2 separate regions of the Homo sapiens genome follow, and region 1 is linked to region 2. The links are contacts of gene promoters, found by promoter capture Hi-C in human tissues and cell types (Jung and others, 2019). All regions are on one chromosome and are shown on one strand. Each heading gives the region's core, a stretch centred on a gene start or on the middle of the fragment in contact. The rest is flanking DNA. Distances are from core to core; before and after follow the strand shown.

Evidence for each region. The method cuts DNA at HindIII sites, captures the fragments that hold promoters and counts their contacts. A contact is called where the count stands out against the background at its distance.
Region 1: a fragment that was not itself captured here is called in contact with the fragment with the promoter of ABHD12B in region 2 in 1 of the 25 tissues and cell types used here (spleen).

What each region holds. Positions count from the first base shown.
Region 1 is chr14:50,739,531-50,746,395 of GRCh38, reverse strand. It overlaps NIN (ninein), which reads left to right. Exons shown (of 31, transcript NM_020921.4): 23 at 2,031-2,153; 24 at 2,867-2,980; 25 at 4,668-4,814. It overlaps LOC124903313 (a long non-coding RNA gene), which reads right to left and starts at 2,932. Exons shown (of 3, transcript XR_007064161.1): 1 at 2,844-2,932; 2 at 1,986-2,321; 3 at 320-1,353. RefSeq lists an enhancer at 1,295-2,494. The HindIII fragment of the contact is 4,060 bases long and covers 3,568-6,865 here.
Region 2 is chr14:50,867,697-50,874,838 of GRCh38, reverse strand. It overlaps ABHD12B (abhydrolase domain containing 12B), which reads right to left and starts at 2,786. Exons shown (of 13, transcript NM_001206673.2): 1 at 2,561-2,786. The coding sequence starts at 2,664. The HindIII fragment of the contact is 9,841 bases long and covers 1-3,701 here.

The sequences.
Region 1 (6,865 bases), core at 4,348-6,847, 130 kb after region 2:
TTAACTACTGCTATGCAAAATGCATGTTCTGCCGTGACTAGAGAAGTCGCCTGTCCATATAAACATAACAGAAGTTAAAACTCATGGGGCCTTTCTGTAGTGTGGTGAAGTATTCCAAGGCTGTTATTACCAACTTTATCCTAATTAACTTGAGCATCCTTTTTTCCTTGACTTTTTGAAAGCCTGTCTGTTGTTCAGCCTTTAGATGATAATGATTGGTTTCAAATTCATAGTATGGGAAATGTGTGCTTTGTGGCTTTGCTAAGCTGGAGAACAGAAGGAAAGGAGCAGAGCTAGGAGAAAAACAACATGATGGGGATGTCATTCAGCACGTTTTTATTGCTTTTTTTTTTTTTTTTTTAAACAAGCATTGGTATAAATAGTGAGATGAAGAAATTGTGAGCCTGGTCTGCCTTTGGTAGAAAGTTGTTTTATCAGAGACCTGGATCCTTTTGGATCCCAAGAATAGGGTAGCGTCAGCCCATCATTGCTATTATACAACGTGGACCTAGAAGGCATGTGTCACTCTGTATGATATCGTGATTCATAGTTCACAAAGCACTTCTATCTGTGTTATCTATTGCACTGAAAGGAAACACAAATAGCATCAGCAAAAGTTACATGCCAGTTTACAGACATCCAAAATGGTATCAAGCTTTACGGGTGTCTGGAGGGTAGGAAGACAAGGCAGTGGATAAAGTAGAAGGTCCTTTATTAAACCAGTGCCCAGGTATTTCAAAATACATTTTCCTATATCCTTCTGACTTGTTCAGATTTGTAAGGTATGCTGGATTTGTCACCAGTTGAAGACAAGATTGAACCCTGAAAGTCTGTTTTGTCATACTATTCCTACAGCTAAATGTGAAAGAATTTCAGGTTCAGGAAGTAGAAAGATGGTCGTAAAATCATAATGATAATAAAGAATTGAAGAGTCAAGTGAAATAGAGGAAAGTTAAAAACCTATGAACTATGGAAAAGGGTTAAGAAGTGTAAGAAACAGCCTCTTTAAAGCATGGGTTTTCAATAGGGTGAAGGGGTGAGGATTGCTCTCCTGCCCCAGAACATTTATCAATGTCTGGGCACATTTTTTGTTTTCACAACTGGAAGGTGGGGGGTTACTGCCATCTTTTGAGTAAAGCCAGAGACGCTGTGAAGCATCCTACAGTGTCCAGAATGCCCCGCGACCCCCAACGCCTGAAGAATTATCCAGCCCAAAATGAGACTAGTACCAGCACTGATATTGAAGACGAATAAAAAACAGTATTTGGTTTGTCTTGATTTCATGAAGTGGAGAGGAAAAGCCAGTATGTTCGCACCAACAACATTTTACTGGCCAGTCAGCGTAGGCACCTTCTGAAAGGAAGAGTACAGGGAACAAGCTGAAAACACGGTTTTATCTTTAAACTTGCCTTTGGGTTGTTACTTGTATGTGGTTCATGCCAATTCTAGGGGGTTTTTTTGTTTTGTTTTGGAGACAGAGTCTCTGTCGCCCAGCCTGGAGTGCAGTCATCTCGGCTCACTGCAGCCTCTGCCTCCCAGGTTCAAGCGATTCTCCTGCCTCAGCCTCCTGAGTAGCCAGGATTACAGGCATGCACCACCACGCCTGGCTAATTATTTTTAATAGAGACAGGGTTTCACCATGTTCACCAGACTGACCTCAAACTCCTGAGGTCAAGTGATCCTCCCCACCTTGGCTTCCCAAAGTGCTGGGATTACAGGTGTGAGCCACCCCCACAGCCCAATTCTATAGTCTTGACTGGTTTTTTAAAAGGAGAGCTAGGATCATTATTTAACAATGTCTGCCTGGTTCAATCTACCTAAGCAGACATTTCAACAGTCAACTGGGAATCAGAGAGAAGCCAGAAGGGAATCCTTGAAGTTTATTATAGTCTCTGCTAGAGTTTATGTCCTCTGAAATATCCACAGATAGGCAAATAGCAGCAGCTGTGAAAATGCCCTATTTAGAAATACCCCTTTGTACTTACAGCCATGAGATGTGATGGGAGGGCTCATTTGTTTATCTCTTACAGCTGCACAGATGTCCCGATCTCTCTGACTTCCAGCAAAAAATCTCTAGTGTTCTAAGCTACAACGAAAAACTGCTGAAAGAAAAGGAAGCTCTGAGTGAGGAATTAAATAGCTGTGTCGATAAGGTAGTAGAAGTAATAAGACTTTACCATCATCGTATACAATACACACCATAATGAACCTTTCTCTGTGGACAGTGGCACAGGGGCCTCCTGTGGTAGTCTGTTGTTCCAGAGTGTCCTGGAGCAGCATTTCTTTGGCATTCTGTGACCCCAGACTTCCTGCAGCCAAGACTGATGAAGTCTAAATTAGTTGTTTACTAATTATATTATTAAACTCGATAATACAAAATGTTTCTTATCACATCACAGTGCTACTTTATACCGCTATTTTGTTATAATATAAATTATGTGTTTAATAATCTGAGATCAATTTCATAGATAAACACTTTTTTTCTATTTTATCTTCTTTAGCAAATCCCAAAACACCACCTTTTTTCCCCACCTGCCTTAAGAGATATTCTGTTTTCTTCCTATGGTATGCTCTTGAGATTTTTAATGGCCTTCCAGCTTACCATCTTCCACCCTCAAAACATGAGGCAATAGAAAAGAAAAATAGGAAATTTCCAAAAAGAAGCAACTCCTCAAAATTAGACGTGTAAAACAGTCTTTGGTTTGTCTCGATTTGGAGCCAGGAAGACCATTTCCTTTGACCTTGCCCTGCTCCCCTACATAAATAGATGGTACTTGTTCTTGACAATGTAAGTGCAGGCATATAAATTAAGGCTAGCTATGTTTGCAAAAATGCCCTCTTACCTCTTTTTCCCTTCCTGAAACAGTTGGCAAAATCAAGTCTTTTAGAGCATAGAATTGCGACGATGAAGCAGGAACAGAAATCCTGGGAACATCAGAGTGCGAGCTTAAAGTCACAGCTGGTGGCTTCTCAGGAAAAGGTACATGGACAATTCTTGTTTCATCTTCACGGTTAGTATTCTCCTAGATCTTCCAACAGAAATCCCGGTAAAAAGAGTGTTCCAGGTAGAAGTAGCGTAAGAGGGTTCCAAATGATTCAATTTGACCAATGTTTGATGTGTGTTTATAGTGTGGCAAGGCTGGGCATGGTGGCTCACCAGCACTTTGGGAGGCCGAGGTGAGCAGATCACTTGAGGTCAGGAGTTCGAGATCAGCCTGGCCAACATGGTGAAACCTCATCTCTACTAAAAATTAAAAAAAAAAAAAGCCTGGTGTCGTGGCAGGTGCCTGTTAAGTCCCAGCTACTCCAAAGACTGAGGCAGGAGAATTGTTTGAACCTAAGAGGCAGAGGATGCAGTGAGCCAAGATCATGCTAGTACACTTCAGCCTGCACGACAGAGCGAGACTCCATCTCAAAAAAAGAAAAGTAAATATAGTATGACAAAATGATTTAAATAATATTTCAAACATTGCAGCAAAATAATTTAAATATTTCCATCAAAGTTTATTAATTATGAAGGCTTGAGAATAGTGCATAAAAATGACTGCTTGTTCCTAATTTATAGATAGGACTTCTAAGGCAGTTTATGCCCTATTTTGAAGATCTATATCAACATTCCCTTTATGAATTTAAATTTTTAAAATTGGAATTTATATGCGGTATTAGCGTAAAATAGGATTCTTCTTTAAGAGGTGAGGTCTTAGCCAGGCACGGTGACTCACGCCTGTAATCCCAGCACTTTGGGAGGCTGAGGCAGGCGGATCACGAGGTCAAGAGATCAAGACCATCCTGGCTAACACAGTGAAACCCCGTCTCTACTAAAAATACAAAAAAATTAGCCGAGCGCGGTGGCAAGTGCTTGTAGTCCCAGCTACTGGGGAGGCTGAGGCAGGAGAATGGCGTGAACCTGGGAGGCGGAGGTTGCAGTGAGCCGAGATCGTGCCACTGCACTCTAGCCTGGGCGACAGAGCAAGACTCTGTCTCCAGAAAAAAAAAAAAAAAAGGTGAGGTTTCTTTGTATCCCAGGCTGGATCACCACTTGCTGCCACCTCAAACTCCTGGGCTCAAAGGATTCTCCCACCTCAGCCTTCCAGGTAGTTGGGACTACAGGCACACGCCACCACACTCAGCTTTTTATTTTTGGTAGAGATGGGGGGTCTTGCCATCTTGCCTAGACTAGTTTGAAACTCCTGGGCTCAAGCGATCCTCCTGCCTTGGCTTCCTAAAGTACTGGGATTCCTGGTGTGGGCCACCATGCCTAGCCTAGAATAGGATTCTACAAGTATATATTTTTATTTGCAACTAAGAGGGTCCTTTACAGTCCAACATCATAGGCTAAAACAATTTCTACAAAATTCAGTGAAACCATCTTTTGTGATGCCAGTTGGCACCCATTGGTATTGTAAGATACCATTTAGTAATCTACCAGATGACTATCAGCAATACCTTGCTCCAGACATAGTTCATCATTGTCCTAAATATAATTTAACATCCTGTAAATATACCTACTGTCCTAGGTTTCCACTGAGCTACTGACAAGAAAGCTGGATTTAGTAAAGAGAAACAAACAGACTTGAAAGTTCTTTTGTCCTTATTCATTCCTGAACATGCTAGAGGTGAGACCACAAGAGTTTGTGTAGCAGTAAAAGATCATTCTCACAATACAGGTTCAGAATTTAGAAGACACCGTGCAGAATGTAAACCTGCAAATGTCCCGGATGAAATCTGACCTACGAGTGACTCAGCAGGAAAAGGAGGCTTTAAAACAAGAAGTGATGTCTTTACATAAGCAACTTCAGAATGCTGGTGGCAAGGTGATTTGTTCTTTTTTTATTTAGGTATAAGTTATTTACAGTAAAGTATACAAATCTTAGGACAACTTGGTTATTTTTATGTGTATATGTATGTACATATAAATATGCATATTTTATGTATCTGTGTTTGTATAACCATCACTTAGATAAAAATGTAGAACATTTCCAGCACTCAGCAGGCTCTCTCTTGTTCCCTCCAGTTGGTAACCCCAAGGGAACCACTTTTGTACCCTCTGCCACTGTAGTTTAGGGATGCTTTTTTCTAAATTTCATATAAATGAAACCATAGTGATATAAAACAGGTCTTTTTTTTGTATTGAGCAAGTCAGAAGACCATGGCTGAGTTGAGTTTTGTAATAACAAAACTAAAACATTTTCTTAAATGGTAGAGAAAAGTATTTGTGTGACCTTAAAAAAAATCAAATGTAGAAAAACATTGCAAGAAATTAATCTGGGAACTTATACACAGACTTGCAAAAAAGTACAGCTTCTGCTAAAAAGGCATAAAACAATAGTATTGAATTTCAGGAGATAATTCATTGCTACAAATAGGTTGCTATGGCACCAGAAAGTCCAGGAAGAGCTGATTAAAGTGTTAGCTGGCTGACACATTATGGTGGTGTGGTAGAAAGTGTCTCATTTTAATAAGTCACAGTGCTGCCTAATCTGTGTGCAAATAAATTAAGAACAATGTTATAGATGTCATTTTGGGGCAGATGTCAAGATTTTGTCCTACAATAAAAGTAGACACATTCAGTTATCTCTTGGTGAAACTTTTTATAAAAAAACTAGTTGTTTTGGGCTGGGTGTGGTGGCTCATGCCTGTAATCCCAGCGCTTTGGGAGGCCGAGGCAGGCAGACCACTTGAAGCCAGGAGTTCAAGACCAGCCTGGCCAACATGGCGAAACCCTGTCTCTACTACAAATACAAAAATGGCCAGGCATGGTGGCTCACGCTTGTAATCCCAGCACTTTGGGAGGCCTAGGCGGGCGGATCACGAGGTCAGGACTTCAAGACCAGCCTGCCCAACATGTTGAAACCCCATCTCTACTAAAAATAAAAAAAATTAGCTGGGCATGGTGGCGAGTGCCTGTAATCCCAGCTACTCGGGAGGCTAAGGCAGGAGAATCGCTTGAACCCGGGAGGGCTAGGTTGCAGTGAGCCAAGATCGTGCCACTGCACTCCAGCCTGGGCGACAGAGCTAGACTTTGTCTCAAAAAAAAAAAAAAGCCAGCTGTGGTAGTACATGCGCCCATAATCCCAGCTACTTGGAAGGCTGAGGCATAAGAATTGCTTGAGCCCGGGAGGTGGAGGTTGCAGTGAGCTGAGATCGTGCCACTGCACTTCAGCCTGGGTGACAGAGTGAGAGTCTGTCTCAAAAAAAAAAAAGTTTCCATTTTTAAAATTACTTCTGGGTTGACTTTTTCTGAAAATGAGATTGTACCTTTTTTTTTTTCATGTTTGGTTTAAAAGGTAAGAGGCTTATCTATTTGTGTTATCTTTTTAATTTTTTAAATCATTTTCAAGATCCAAAAAATCACTTTGGTAGCTGAAAGCACATTTCTGAATTCAGACGTTAATTACATGGACAATATGTGCTTTGGATTCTAAAAAAAGGATATGATTGCATATGTGAAAATGAAAGTAGAGTTTAGCCTATGAAAGCTTTTGAGTTGGCAGTGCATTTCAGCCTTCTCTTTATGTCCTCTGTGAATCAAATGAATATCTTCTGGGCTTAAAGATAACTTCGTAAGAATGAAGCAACTTTTAAGCCACCAGTCTCAATGCATTTGGGTCCTTTATGGAACTGGGCCTTGCCCTACAGTCATATTCATTATTGGACATGGCATGGCTGTTTTGTCAAAGACCATTTTAAACAGAGACTCTCCAAATCTTTTTGTTTAAATCAAACTTCAAGAATATTGTTTTATTCATATTTATATGTACATACACATACTTTCATTAGAAGACTGAGGGGACAATTGAAAGGTACTTATTAGGAGTCGTTGTCATTGGGTAAACATGACACCTGTCTCAAAACAGCAATTACC
Region 2 (7,142 bases), core at 1,537-4,036:
TTATTTACTGCTGTGTGACCAAGACTAGAATACTATCCAATAGATAATAAAGAACCAACGCTGTGGAAAGAATGAACACATTTATCAGCCTACTCCTGCACATTTTCTGAGCACTATCTAGGATTGTAATGACTTGGGGTGGAATGGGGGAAATGAGGAGGAAAATAAACCTTTGGTTTCCCCCAACTTCCTTCTGGAGCACATTTTCCATTTTTCTTTTTTTATTATTATTTTTTTTTGAGACGGAGTCTCGCTCTGTCACCCAGGCTGGAGTGCAGTGGTGCGATCTCGGCTCACTCCAACCTCCGCCTCCCAGGTTCAAGCAATTCTCCTGCCTCAGCCTCCGGAGTAGCTGGGACTACGGGCATGTGCCACCACGCCTGGCTAATTTTTTGTATTTTTAGTAGAGACAGGGTTTCACTGTGTTAGCCAGGATGGTCTCCATCTCCTGACCTCATGATCTGCCCGCCTTGGCTTCCCAAAGTGCTGGGATTACAGATGTGAGCCACAATGCCTGGCCTCATTTTTCTAATTTAAAGAAAACCAGTTGTAAAGTGGAGACTTACTCTCCTTGGCCCACCCACCTTAAGCAGCAACTGGATTTGATAAAAATTTTTGTAAAATAAATAACTAGATTCCCAAGGCATTAAAAAATAGCCACTGAAAAAATCATATGATGAAATGTTCTTGGGTCTCACAACACATCCCACTAGTTCCAGTGCCATGATCAGGGCCAGGGGCATGGCAAGCCCTCCATGAAGGTTTGCTCACCTAAGTGAACCCGGCTCCAAGAATCAAAGAGGACTTGGGATAGTGGAAATGGGTCTGGGCCTCAGCCTCAGCACATCTTATGGTAGCCAATAATCTTCTGCTCAGATGAAGACATACGCTAGTATTTTGTTCTTTCAGGAAGTGTCTCTTGAGACTTTTTTCACTAATTAGTAAGGCAAGTAATAGATGGTCCCCAACTCCCTATCTCCCACTCCATTATCAACAAAGTGGGTTATTCTCTATGAGTATGATGTGCAACTTTGATTCTCTGCCTAATAAATGCCCTTTACTGCCAAATAAATGTTAAATAATCAGCCATCAATTCCACAGAGACCATCAAAGTGAAAAACATTAGATGTCAACGTTCCCAGAATCACCACATCTGGGAGAGAAGTCCTGTTAATATGCAGTTTGACAAGTGCAATCAGGACATTCTGCCACGTGTTCAGATCCAACCCAGAGCTGGGAGGCATGGGTTCTAGGTGACTGGGCCCCTGCAGAGCTGCCAGCACTCTGCTGTCTGCAATGAGAATAAAAAGGAATAGAAGAGAAAAGAGACCAGGTGCAGTGGCTCACACCTGTAATCCCAACACTTTGGGGTGCCAAGGCAGGTGGAATCTGTGAGCTCCAGGAGTTTGAGACCAACCTGAACAATGTAGTGAAAACCCATATCTACACAAAATACAAAAATCAGCTCAGTGTGGTGGCAGGTGCCTGTAGTCCCAGCTACTGGGGAGGCTGAGACGGGAGGATCGCTGGAGCCCTGGGAATGAGCCAAGATTGTGCCACTGCACTCCAGCCTGGGCAACAGAGTGAAACCCTTGTCTCAAAAAAGAAAAAAAAAAGAGAGAGAGAGAGAGAAAAGATCCCCGTTTGTCATCATCACTCTGGGCACTCCAAAGTGAGGTCTCCTGTGTCTGGATGTAATTTTTGGATATTTTCTAATCAGCACAAATTAAACAAAAGGAATAGAAAGAGGGAAGTAAAAATGCCAATACCTTCCCACACCAACAAAACTAAATGAAATACCCACGTGTCCTGGGTCCACGATCTCCAACCAATACCTGGCTTCAGTGCAAACAAGACTGACAATATGTTGCAGGTGGATTCAGGTAATTTAAGATTACTGTTTAAACCGAGGATCCATGGGAGGAAGAAAACAGAAACAAAACCCGAAACACCCACTGATACATTTCAGACTTAAACAACATAAGAACTTGGCACAGGTAATGCCAAGTTATGGTTTCAACACACTATGTACATCTTTAGCATACTGGAGGTGTTTTCTTTAAATACATGCCAGGGAGTTCACACTCAGGGAACTAGGCACGGATTTTCTGATTCTTTTCCACCTACACAGATAGGCCCTTGACCTAAGAGGATCCCGTCCAAGATTACAACATATATTACTATTGTCACTATTACTAATGTCATTCAGATCCATCTTGTATGTTAGCAAAATGGTCAGATAATAGAGATTGGTGTAGGAATTCAACCATCTCCCTGGCATCTGTATTTCAGAAGCCCCCAAAAGTTATAACTTCCTGAAATACCAAACCTGAGAGTCTCGCTGGTCCAGGTTGGGATTGAGGCTGAGGATAGCAAGGGCAACCAAAGAGCCCTAGAGTTCTCAGGGGGCCGCCGAGGTCCCCCGGAAGCCACAATGCTGGGCCTTGGGCCCGGGCCAGCAGAGGGGATTGCGGCCTCGGCCGCGCCCTGGCCCCCTGCCCCATCCCCGCGCAGCCTGAGCCGTCGGGGCCCGGCCAGGGGTGGACCGGGCGGTACTCACCGCAGGTTGCGGTCGACCATGTCCCACCAGGCGGCCACGCAGCTACGGGCTGGGGGCCCGGGCGGCTCGGGCGATGCGGCCGCCTGGCAGTCCTGCGCGTCCATCCCGCGCCGTGTCCCGATACGCCGCCACCGCCGCGGGAGCTGCAGTCCGGAGCAGCCGCCCGCGACCTTCCCGCCCCGGCGGCACCGCGCCCGCCCTCCTCCTCCGCGCGGTCAGGCAGGCTGGTACGGCGGGGGAGACGCGGCCCGAGGGTGCGCTCCGCCCGGGTCAGGCTGTTCGCGGCCACACACACACACACAGATGTCCTAAGCTTATAGCTAGCTATGCTACATTTTATTTTAAATTGATTTCCATTATACTTCTGTGTGTGTGTGGGTGTGAGGCGCGCGCAACGCAGTAAAATATGTTTTCACCATGGTACTACTAACACAAAAGTTTGACCGCCACAGCTTTTGATTTTCATGAAGAATATAAGCTTTCCTCTACTTAAACCTCACTTTTTTCTTTTTCTCTTTTTCTGAAGCCTCCTTGTCTCCAATTCCCCATCCACCCCCAAAATCCTCACAGCCCCCCACCCTGTCACCCTTACTATAGAAAGAATTTCTTTGGCTCCCTTTGATTTACTAATGATTTGTCTGTCCACGTGGGGTTATGAACACAATTACTCCATGTAGCAAAAAATTAAGACCTTTTCGGTATTTTGTTTACGTAGCAGCATGTAGCAGAACCTCATCATTGTACCAAGGAGTTCACACCTTGAAACTTTGACCTTGGTACAGGTTTACATCTTGGTGCAGGTTTACATTGTGCAACTGTCTCCTAGGAGCAGGAACTGTCTACCAGAGCTACTCTAGGGAAGCCACGGCCTGCATGTGTGGGGACAAAGGAGGAAGAAAGGGAATTAGGTTTTATTTGGATACATTCGGATGCCAGCATCAAGGCTTCATCTTGGAGGCAAGGTGCAAATCTTAAGAGGTGAAATGGGTTTTTTGTAGTGTCTGTGTTCAGAGGGCACAGCAGGGGGCTGTCAGCACCAGAAAGTGCGTGGAAACCCATCTGCTTGAGGATAGTAAGATGGTCTGGGGGAAAATACCCACACTTTTCAAGAAAGGGAAGTTTTCTTTGAGTACTAGCTCATTTCATGGAACTGTCAGGGCAAAGGGGGATTTTGTTCACTGCCTGTTAATACTCTTATACTTGCTCTGGGAATGTTTGTTTTCTTTGTTTCTTTCTCTTTCCTTCCTTCCTTTCTTTCTTTCTTTCTTTCTTTCTTTCTTTCTTTCTTTCTTTCTCTTTCTTTCTTTCTTTCTTTCTTTCTTTCTTTCTTTCTTTCTTTCTTTCTTTCTTTCTTTCTTTCTTTCTTTCTTGTCATGGTCTTACCCTGTCACTGAGGCTGGAGTGCAGTGGTGCAATCATAGCTCACTGTACTTGAACTCACTTGAACTCCTGGACTCAAGCAATCCTTCCACTCCAGCCTCCCAAGTAGCTGGGACTACAAGCATGCACCACTATGCCTGGTGCGCGCGCGCACGCACGCTTGTGTGTATAGAGATGAGATCTCACTATGTTGCCCAGGCTGCTATCAAACTCCTGGCCTCAAGCAATTCTCCCACTTCGGCCTCCCAAAGTGCTGGGATTACAGGTCTCTGTCACCACACCTGGCTGGAATGTTCAGTTTCTGATTCACACACATCAAGATAGAAGAGGAATTAGCTCAGAAAGGACCAATGGGATCCAAGCCTGACTGATGAGCCAGCAGCAGGTGGGTTTTCACAGAGCCACAACCTGCATGATGAGAAAGCTTCAAGCAGATGTCGGCTCTACCCTTGGAGTTCTTCATAAACGTGGTCTGGAATCTCCCAGAACTTGTTCAGGGAAGCTCTGGATGGGACTCTGGGGCCATGCCAAGTGGAGATGGAGGGATCAAAGATGGGGAGGAGAGCTTGGAGGAGAGAAGAACAGCTGCATATGGTCCCAGAGTCTATTTCCATCTACTTGCTCAGGTTGAGAGAGGATATTTCCATCTACTTGCTGGATGAACAAAGTTGTAAGCCCCAAGTCTAGGGATATGTTTGAAATGCTCAGCAAAAATCTCTGAAATTGGAAATCACTATGGCCCATTTTTTGAAAGGTTGCATAAGACTCTGCAAGAAGGTCTTTCCCAGTATAAATAGCCCCTTTCAAATGGCACATCCTGGAAATCAGGGAACAAAGTCTCCCATATGATTTGATAGAACCTGAAAAACAAAATATGCATTCATTTATTCAGCACCCATTTACTGAGCACCTTTTAGGTACCAGGTACCACATTGGGCACCGTAGGGATACAAATCAGGATCCCAGCTGGTAGAGATTCATTTCAGGATGAACCATGAGAACACAGAACAGGAAATGAAAAGTGTCTTAAGGGTAGAGATTAAATCAGGGGATAGCAGGGGCTGGAGGTGGGGAGGGGAGGTTGACTACAAAGGGGTGCGAAGGGACATTTTAGAGTGATGGGAATAGTCAACATCTCAAGTGTGGTGGTGGTTACTATAAATATCCACCAATGCATATAACTCACAGGTGAATTTGACTGAATATGAATTATACCTCAACAAACCTGACTTTTGAAAAGTGACCTAAGAAATGTACAGATAAACTATATAAATGAACATGTCCTATGTCATGTTGTATAAATGTTAAGACAAAGCTGATGGTACAAATACATCAGAAACCAACAGTTGAATGTTATTTGCACTAGCAGAAAAATAAATCTTGATTGGAGACAGATTAATTTGACCACCTAAAATTATTCTGGAAAAACAGGGAATGGGGAATAAGACTGACCACCTCTCAGCTGCTGTACAGCTGTGAAGGTAAACTGCTGGTAATAAGGCAGTTGGGTGTTGAAGACCTAGATATCTTGAAAAGAAAGTATGCATCCCCCTTGTGTTTTCTTTTATTTTAAATAAAGCATTATGAGACATAAAATTCACACACTATAAATTCACTATTTTAAAGTATACAACTCAGTAATTTTAGTATATTCTCAGAGTTGTGCATCTATCACTATTATTTACAATAACTTTAGAACATTTTTATCACAGCCCCCCAGAGAAATCCTATACCCATTAGCACTCACCATTCCTCCCTTCACCTGCCCTAAGCAATCACTAATCTACTTTCTGGCTCTGTGCATTTGCCTATTCTGGACATTTCATATAAATGAATTAAACAATATGTTGCATTTTGTGTCTGGCTTCTTTAACTCAGTATAGTGTTTTCAAGGTTCATCCATGTGCTATCTCAGTGAATACTTCATTCGTTTTGGTGGCTGAATAATATTTTTTTGTATGGATATACCACATTGTGCTTATCCACTCATCAGTTGGTGGACATTTGGGTTGTTTCTACCTTTTGTCTATTGTAAATAATGTTGTTATAAATATTTGCATACAAGTTTTTGTGTGGACTTACGTTTTCATATCTCTTTATTGTACAACTAGGAGTGAAATTGCTAGGTCATATAGGTAACTCTATGTTTAATTTTTTGAGGAACTGCCAAATTGTTTTCCAAAGTGGCTACCCCATTATACAATCCCACCAACATAAGCACCATGTACCTTTTTTACCCTTTCTCAGCTTTCCGTGCACAGGTAGGAATTTTTTTTAATCTAATATTGTTGAGATTGAAATAAACCATTAAAGGGAAGTTTGAGTCCAGTCCCAGACGATAGGGAAAGAATGATGTAACTAACTCACTCAGAATATTTATTTTTCTATGTTGTTAGTTTTAGATTGTCTTCCTCTATATTAGATCTAATTTTAAGACAATTCATTATAGCTTCAAGAGTAGCTGTTGGATTATTCTCATGTGCTTAGAATTGAGAGTATTAATACGGGTTTCCTTTTAGCTAAAGGGGTGGTTTCTTTGAGAAGAGAAAATGACAATGTCATGGGCCCCTTTCAGTTGAAACTGGAAGTGCTTGAGTACATTGGGTACACCGTTTCTTCCAAAGAGCTCTCCACATTCCCAGACATGGCTCATAGGGTCCTTGCTCTTCTACAGTAAAACACGAGATTTGGTTTTCCTAAATATCTATGGAAGAACTGAGCTGGGATTAAACCCCAGCAGTTACAACTCCCTCCTACCTCTCTGGGTATTACTTTCCAAATTCCTCCAGCCATTCCTTAAAAGTTAGCTGTTCTCAGGGTTCCTTCCTAGCTCTGCTTCTCTTCTTGTGTTGTATACACCAGGATTTCCAAATCTATTGGGAAAGAGGCCAGGCGTGGTGGCTCACACCTGTAATCCCAGCATTTTGGGAGGCCGAGGTGGGCAGATCACTTGAGGTCAGGAGTTCAAGACCAGCCTGGCCAACATGGCAAAACCCCATCTCTACTAAAAATAAAAAAATTGGCCAGGCATGGTGGCACATGCCTGTAATTCCAGCTACTCAGGAGGCTGAGGTGGGAGAACTGCCAGAACCCAGGAGGCAGAGGTTGCAGTGAGCCGAGATTATGCCACTGTACTCTAGCCTGGGTGACAGGGCAAGACTCAGTTTCAATAAAAAAAAATAATAAAAATTTTAAAAGCTAT